Linked DNA regions of Homo sapiens: region 2 is linked to region 1. Evidence: promoter capture Hi-C in 16 types of primary human blood cells and fetal thymus (Javierre and others, 2016). All regions are on one chromosome and are shown on one strand. Each heading gives the region's core, a stretch centred on a gene start or on the middle of the fragment in contact. The rest is flanking DNA. Distances are from core to core; before and after follow the strand shown.

The links. Contacts are between HindIII fragments. The CHiCAGO score rates a contact against its expected background, and 5 or more counts as called.
Region 2: a fragment that was not itself captured here is called in contact with the fragment with the promoter of PRAC1 in region 1 in 1 of 17 cell types (M2 macrophages); the score reaches 6.7 in M2 macrophages.

Annotation. Positions count from the first base shown.
Region 1 is chr17:48,720,556-48,723,834 of GRCh38, reverse strand. It overlaps PRAC1 (PRAC1 small nuclear protein), which reads left to right and starts at 1,317. Exons shown (of 2, transcript NM_032391.3): 1 at 1,317-1,517; 2 at 1,936-2,116. The coding sequence starts at 1,443. The coding sequence ends at 2,034. PRAC2 (PRAC2 small nuclear protein) reads right to left here and starts at 650. Exons shown (of 2, transcript NM_001282275.2): 1 at 522-650. RefSeq lists enhancers at 341-856, 857-1,371. The HindIII fragment of the contact is 8,116 bases long and covers 1-3,279 here.
Region 2 is chr17:48,191,000-48,194,278 of GRCh38, reverse strand. The region is part of intron 4 of SKAP1 (src kinase associated phosphoprotein 1); the gene reads left to right. Among named protein-coding and RNA genes, the nearest start is that of MIR1203, 36 kb to the right of the region's middle. RefSeq lists an enhancer at 1,493-2,110. The HindIII fragment of the contact is 2,282 bases long and covers 341-2,622 here.

The DNA of each region.
Region 1 (3,279 bases), core at 68-2,567:
GTGGATTTTATTAGGCCTCCAGAAGCCGAATAAGGGAGTAGTGGCGCAATGCGTAGAAACTACCTCCGGAAGCTCTTTTTGAATCTCGGTTCCAGCACCCGCAACGCAGAGCGCGAACCTGAGGCTCCATCTTTCGGGTTTTACTCCGGCTGGCTAGCGCTTCCGGGAACCCTGCGAGGCCGCCGCCAGCCGAGAATCCGCCCCGCCTTCCCTGCAGGCGATCCCTACTCCAAATAGTAGTTCCCGGGCCGGAAGCTGGAAAGCCCTCGAAGCAGGAAAAAGCCTCATCCAGGCCCCCCAGTTCTCGGGAGCAGCTCCAGCTTTCCTTCCCCAACCTAGAGCAAACTTCTCTTCCCTGCAGCTCCCCTCCCCCCCTTCATTAAAGTTATATTGAAGGTGCTAAGTGCTGCACTCTAATTGGGTTTCCTTCAGGGGAGACCCTGTGCCCCCCGGCCCCAACCCGTCCTGTCTAATAGAAATCCCCGAGCTGCAACCGCGAATTAAATAGATGAACTCGTTACCGTAAACTTGCAATAAAGCCCGGAGGCGACTGCTGCGGAGGGGGCAAAAGAAGGTTTCGTTGTTTTTGAAATTTATACCATTCTCACCCTCCCGAACAGTCGCTCTCCAGGGAAGAGGGGAGAAAGCTCGGGAGCGGCCCCGGGCCTCTAGCCCAAAAGCAGGACACCCCGCCCCTCCCCCCAGGCACTGGCCTGGGCCTGAGACAGATTTAAAACATCCAATGAGGAACCGATGCCAGCCTTTCTTCCTCTCTCCCTACCAGTTAGTTCTGTGTAGAGGGGATGAGGGGGAGGGGACGAAGTGGTCGGGGGAGAGTGAGGGAAAGAATTCCACCATTACCTTCTCTCCTCCCCTAAACTGCCCCCGAACTGGGAGGTGCACAGGGGGCAGCAAAAGAGTTTAATCGCCCCTAGAATAATGCTGGCGCCCAGCCTGGGGGGAGGGTCAGGGACTTTGCCATTGAACTTGAAGTTCCAGGCTGGTGGTCTCCACCGCCCCCGCCCCCATTTTCCTAAAAGTTTTATGGGAAGAGGGAGGAAGGTGAGGGGAAGAGAGGACTTCTCTGGCCTTGGGAAAGAGGGAGGAAGCCAATCAGGGGAGGAAGGGCCACAGCAACCAGGAGGTCCAGGGAGATTCGGAGGTTTGCGGGGAGGCGAGGAGGCTGCTGGGAGGAGACACTCCAGCTTTCGCCCCTACTTGCAGCTATGAGGTGGGGAGCCACCAACCGCAGGCCTTCTTACTGAGCCCCGCCCCAGACTCTACAGGGAGAGGGGCACCCAGTGCTGTGCTCCCGTCCTTCCTCTCCTAGCCTAAGGCGTGCAAACAGAGCGCCACTGGGAGGCTGAAACCTTTAGGCCGATGCTTGCTTGCAAGGTCAGGCAAGCTGGATTCTGGTCCCCACCTTTGCAGAGAGAACAGCGATGTTGTGCGCCCATTTCTCAGATCAAGGACCGGCCCATCTTACTACCTCCAAGAGTGCTTTTCTCTCTAATAAGGTAAACTGATCGGTGGGCCAAGGGCGTTATCGACGGATCGCTCAGTATGGTAGCTGCATCAGGAGGCCCTGGGAGAGGGTCTCCCAGGAATTTGGGAGCCTTCAGAAGTTTTGGGAAACAAGGGAAGGGTGAGCAGCAGGCTTTCACCGATACCACCTGGCGGGAGCACCTACTCGCGGTTCCTGGAGAGACCGGCAGCCGCCCTGGGCAGAAAGGGACAAAGAAAATGTTTCGCAGCACGCGGGACCTGCAGGACCTAGGCGGGGGAGAGGCTTGGGAGTGGGAACTAGCACCCGCTGTAAGGTCTGCCATAAGACTTAATGTTTGTCTCCAATGGGATGGAGTCCTGGCATAAGCAAAATTAATATTGATAACGTTATTATTATTTAAAATTTGTAAATATTGTAAAATATTTTAGAAAACATCTACTTTGAAACATCTACTGGGCGAGACCAGGAGTGATGGCTCAGCCTGTAATTCTGGAATTTCGGGAGGCCGAGGCAGGAAGATTCCTTGAGCACAGGAGTTCCAGACCAGCCTGGGCAATGTAGCAAGACGCTGTCTCTATTTATACAATAAAATTTTTTTAAAAAAGGAAACTGGGTGAAAGTTAACTGTGATTATAACAATTTTTCTTTTTTAAACTAACTCATCCTTAAGGCAAAAGCTCTGGGCCTTAAAAAAATAAAAACGGGCCAGGCATAGTGGCTCATGGCTGTAATCCCAGCACTTTGGGAGGCTGAAGTGGGCAGATAACTTGAGGCCAAGAGTTTGAGATCAGCCTGGCCAACATAGTGAAAACTGTCTCTACTAAAAATACAACAATTAGCTGGGCATGGTGGCTCACACCTGTAATTCCAGCTACTCAAGAGGCTGAAGCACAAGAATTGCTCGAACCTGGGAGGTGGAGGTTGCAGTGAGCTGAGATTATGCCATTGCACTCCAGCCTATGTGACAGAGTGAGACTCTGTGACAAATAATAATAATAATAATAATTGCACCTTTTTCTCTGGGCCCCTGGCTTCCTTATTCCCTTTCCTGCACCCTCTCAGAAGCTCTGCCTTGCCAAGTGTGGGATCAATGCCACAGCAGGCATGTGTGCGCACAGGGGCTCTGGGTCCAGTACAGAAGCAGGCTGGGGACCACATGCTCACATCTTCAGCCAACCACTGATATTGCCAAGTCATTGGTCTTGGGGTGGGCACAGTAATCCACAAAAACACTCAGGACTCACCTAACTCTCTTCTCCCCACAGCTGGCTCCTTCCCTGCCAGTTCCCCCTCCCATAATGACAAAACCCACAATTGAGTGAGCACTTTATAACCTAAAGAAATTGAAACTAAGAGGGTAAGTTACTTGATCTGGGTCCCAAAACAGGAGCGCTTAACCTCTACCACCAACTGAAAAAATAGAAAGCCCAGGGACTCCTCTATTGTCAACATACCTCTCCCTGCAAGGCCCTTCAGACACTAACAAGCACCTGCTTCCATCCGGAGTCACCCAGCTGAGATCACACAGGTGCACCCAAACACCCTAGACCCAGCCCCTCCTCAGGCACTGGACAGATCTGCATATATGCAAACAGGGGATTAAACACGTGTGGACATTTTTGTCAACCAACTACTCATTAATTGAGTATGCAAAATCTTCCACTAGGGGTGGAAGACAGGAGGAAAGAGTTGGAAATATGCTCTCCCTTCCCACCAGGCCTGACTCCTATGCTGGTAAATCTTGGGTCTGCAGCTTCCCCATATGTGACCTG
Region 2 (3,279 bases), core at 232-2,731, 530 kb after region 1:
ATGAAGAGAAAGATATCTGAGAATTTCTTTTATCTTCATCTGCCATGAAAGTTGGGTGGCCATCACTTCTGGGTAACATACTTCTCTGTTGATCTTATCTTTGTGGCCCCATATCCTTCAGCTAAGTGAATCTTTTCTTTATACGGGCTGTTCTGAGAGGTTTAGTTAAGTGTAGTGGTAGGGAGAGATTATGACACTAATGTAATTCTGTTTTGTGCTGATATAATGTAATACACCTTTAGACTTAGCCAAGAGGGCCATTTATTCTCAATAAATCAAAATCATTTTTATTTTTTCATGACGGTGGTGATATCTTTTCTCAGGTAATGAATAAAAAGCTTCTTTTTTTAATTGTATACTTAAATATAAATTGTTTGCCTTAAAATAGCAACTTATACAATTGTTTGCAACTTCTTCCTATTTTTATAACCGTCCTTTAAAGCATATTTTACATACTTTCTATTATGCATTAAGTAGTTCTCTGCAGATCTGTTCGTTTACCAGTAGGTGTGGATCCAGGCATACAAGATTCCTGCCTCATCACCCCATGGCATGGCTAACACTGTTCATCCTCAGGATCACTAGTTCTTGATCAGTAGGACCCTGCGCTGACACTGAAAGAGGAGGTACCTTGCATGCCACTGTGGATTCCCACCTTGGTTATTTGGATTTGTCAGATAGATCATGGAGCTAATGAGATTGAGCTCAGAGCCAACTACATTGAGAACAACTCTGTTATTGAACTCACCACACAGTACCTTGTACACAGAAGACAGTTAGTAGACTAGAGACTGATCTGACCTCATTTCCTAATTTTTTTTCCGTAGACATTCTAAACTGAGCCTATAATCCCATTTTTTCCCACTGCCCATAAGGGGAACCAGGCAAGAGAATTCCTCAATACAGATTCTGTCTAATGAATAAGAAAGCAACATAGACCGGGTGCGGTGGCTCATGCCTGTAATCCCAGCACTTTGGGAGGCCGAGGCGGCTGGATCCCCTGGGGTCAGGAGTTCAAGACCAGCCTGACCAACATGGAGAAACCCCGTCTCTACTAAAAATACAAAAAACTATTCAGGCATGGTGGTGCATGCCTGTAATCCCAGCTACTTGGGAAGCTGGAGCAGGAGAATCGCTTGAACCCGGGAGGTGGAGGTTGCAGTGAGCTGAGATCACACCATTACACTCCAGCCTGGGCGACAAGAGTGAGACTCTGTCTCAAAAAAAAGAAAGAAAGAAAGCAACATAACACATCTTACTGACTATACACAAAAACACACCATATAAAAAGCTGTTTCCAGCTCTATTCCTTTTCAGAATCTTGTTAGTGAATGACCAAGAGAAAAAATTCAGCAGCTCCTTTGGTACCCAATTTTAGCAAACTGAGTTTGACTCTTGGGGAGAGAAGGTGGTGATGGTGCTATCCCTTGTCTCCTAGAATTAGTGACTTAGAGTTACATCTCTGCTGTATTATGTCTTTGTTTCCTTAGTGGTGGCATTCTTGGGTTTCAGTTGGTGGGGAGAGAAAAACCTCATGCTGATAATGTACTGAAAGTAAATGAAATTAAATAAGCGAAGCAGTGCTCATCACTACTTCCTCCCCCCTGGGTAATTCAATTCAAGCTCTCTCTCTGATGGCAACTCACAGGGGCTGTCTCTGTCACCCCGCTGGGGCCTGGAGTCTTAACATCTAAATAAAAGTTTCACTCAGGCATTTTTTATGCTCCTGCCAGCAGGATCAGTGAGCTGGTGTGGGCACATTAATGTAATATTCATACTCACAGACTCTCCCTGCACACGAGGCAATGTCTTCCCATTTTCATAATTATAGATGTTCCATAAAATGGCATTTAAATTTGCATTAAAAAAAGGAGGTTTGAATTCTAATAGAACGTTTAACATGTCTTTTATGATTCAGACTCTTGGCATCTTTGACAAGGAGCTGTGTCTCTAAGTTTAACAAGACCTTTAAAAAGAAAAGAAAAAAAAAACCTGTGGAAAGAAGAGATGGAAACTCCCAGCTTATGGGATCGTGTTTTCCTCATCTCCCTATGTCTTTCATTTAATTTTTAGGCCTCCAGGAGCAATTTTTTTTTTTAAGAGGCAGAGTCTCGCTCTGTCCCCAGGCTGTTGTGAAGTGGTTCAATCACAGCTCACTGCAGCCTTGAACTCCTGGACTCAAGAGATCCTCCTACCTCAGCCTCCAAGTAGCTGGGACTACAGGTTTGTGCCACCACACCTGGCCTCCCCAGGAGCAATTTTTTGACAGCACTTCAGAGAGCCTTCTCTTCTGTAACTGGTCCTCACCCCACTCAATGCCTCACCCTCAGTAGAATCTGCTACTGTTTCCTTGGAGGGTGTTTTCAGAGGGGTAGGAGAAATGAAAGAACCCTAGAAAAATGAACTTTCCTTTGCTGCTGTTCATCTCATGCGTGCACCCTGAGATTGATTAAAAGGATTTATGGCAACCACATAGTTTGCTAACTGTGAAACACACAAATAAAAGTAGTCCATGAACAAGGAGGTTAACAATAAGGACCAATTGGATAAAAAATCAGGCACATAGACACACTTAAAAACAGAAAAAGAGGCTCTTCTGATCTACCTTTTTATAACTAAGCTTGAAACAGCTTTAAAGCAAAATGTAATTTTGATTGCATTTTAAATTGTCGTAGATGTTATTTTAAAACAAAAAGTAGGAAAAGCACTGAGCAAAGTGCCAGCTCATAGCCACCATTGAATAAATGTTATTGTAGGAAATGTTCAAAAAACAATTGTTTGAAAAAAAGTTATTTCAACCATAACTCTCAAGATACTCTATAGGTGGCCCAGTTGATTCATATGTAGTTATGCCTTACTTTGTTTTGTATTTGGTTTGCTTCATAAATTATTTAAGACAATCCAAAAGAGATTTGAGTTCTGGGACTAAAAAGAATAAATGTTAAAATACCGCTAGCCCAATTACCTTCATTTTGCCTAATTAAGAAATGTGGAGTGTGTCCTTAAAAGAGGCTTTTTTTTTCATTCTTCTTTCATTTTATTTTTTGAGAAGTAAATTCCTTCTTTGTCTCCATCCTTTGTCCCTCCCTTCTGTGAAGTAAGTATAAACCCCAGTGGAGGAAGATGGATTAGGATCTTGACTTCTCAATAAATTTGTACCTAACAAGGCTAATTGAAAGCCAAGAATGTTAGCAGCATACAATTAAAGGCTGATGTAAGTTTCAGGGTATTATTTGTGAAGCCTTTTACAGTTCTTAGATTCTTTCGCATACTTTTTTT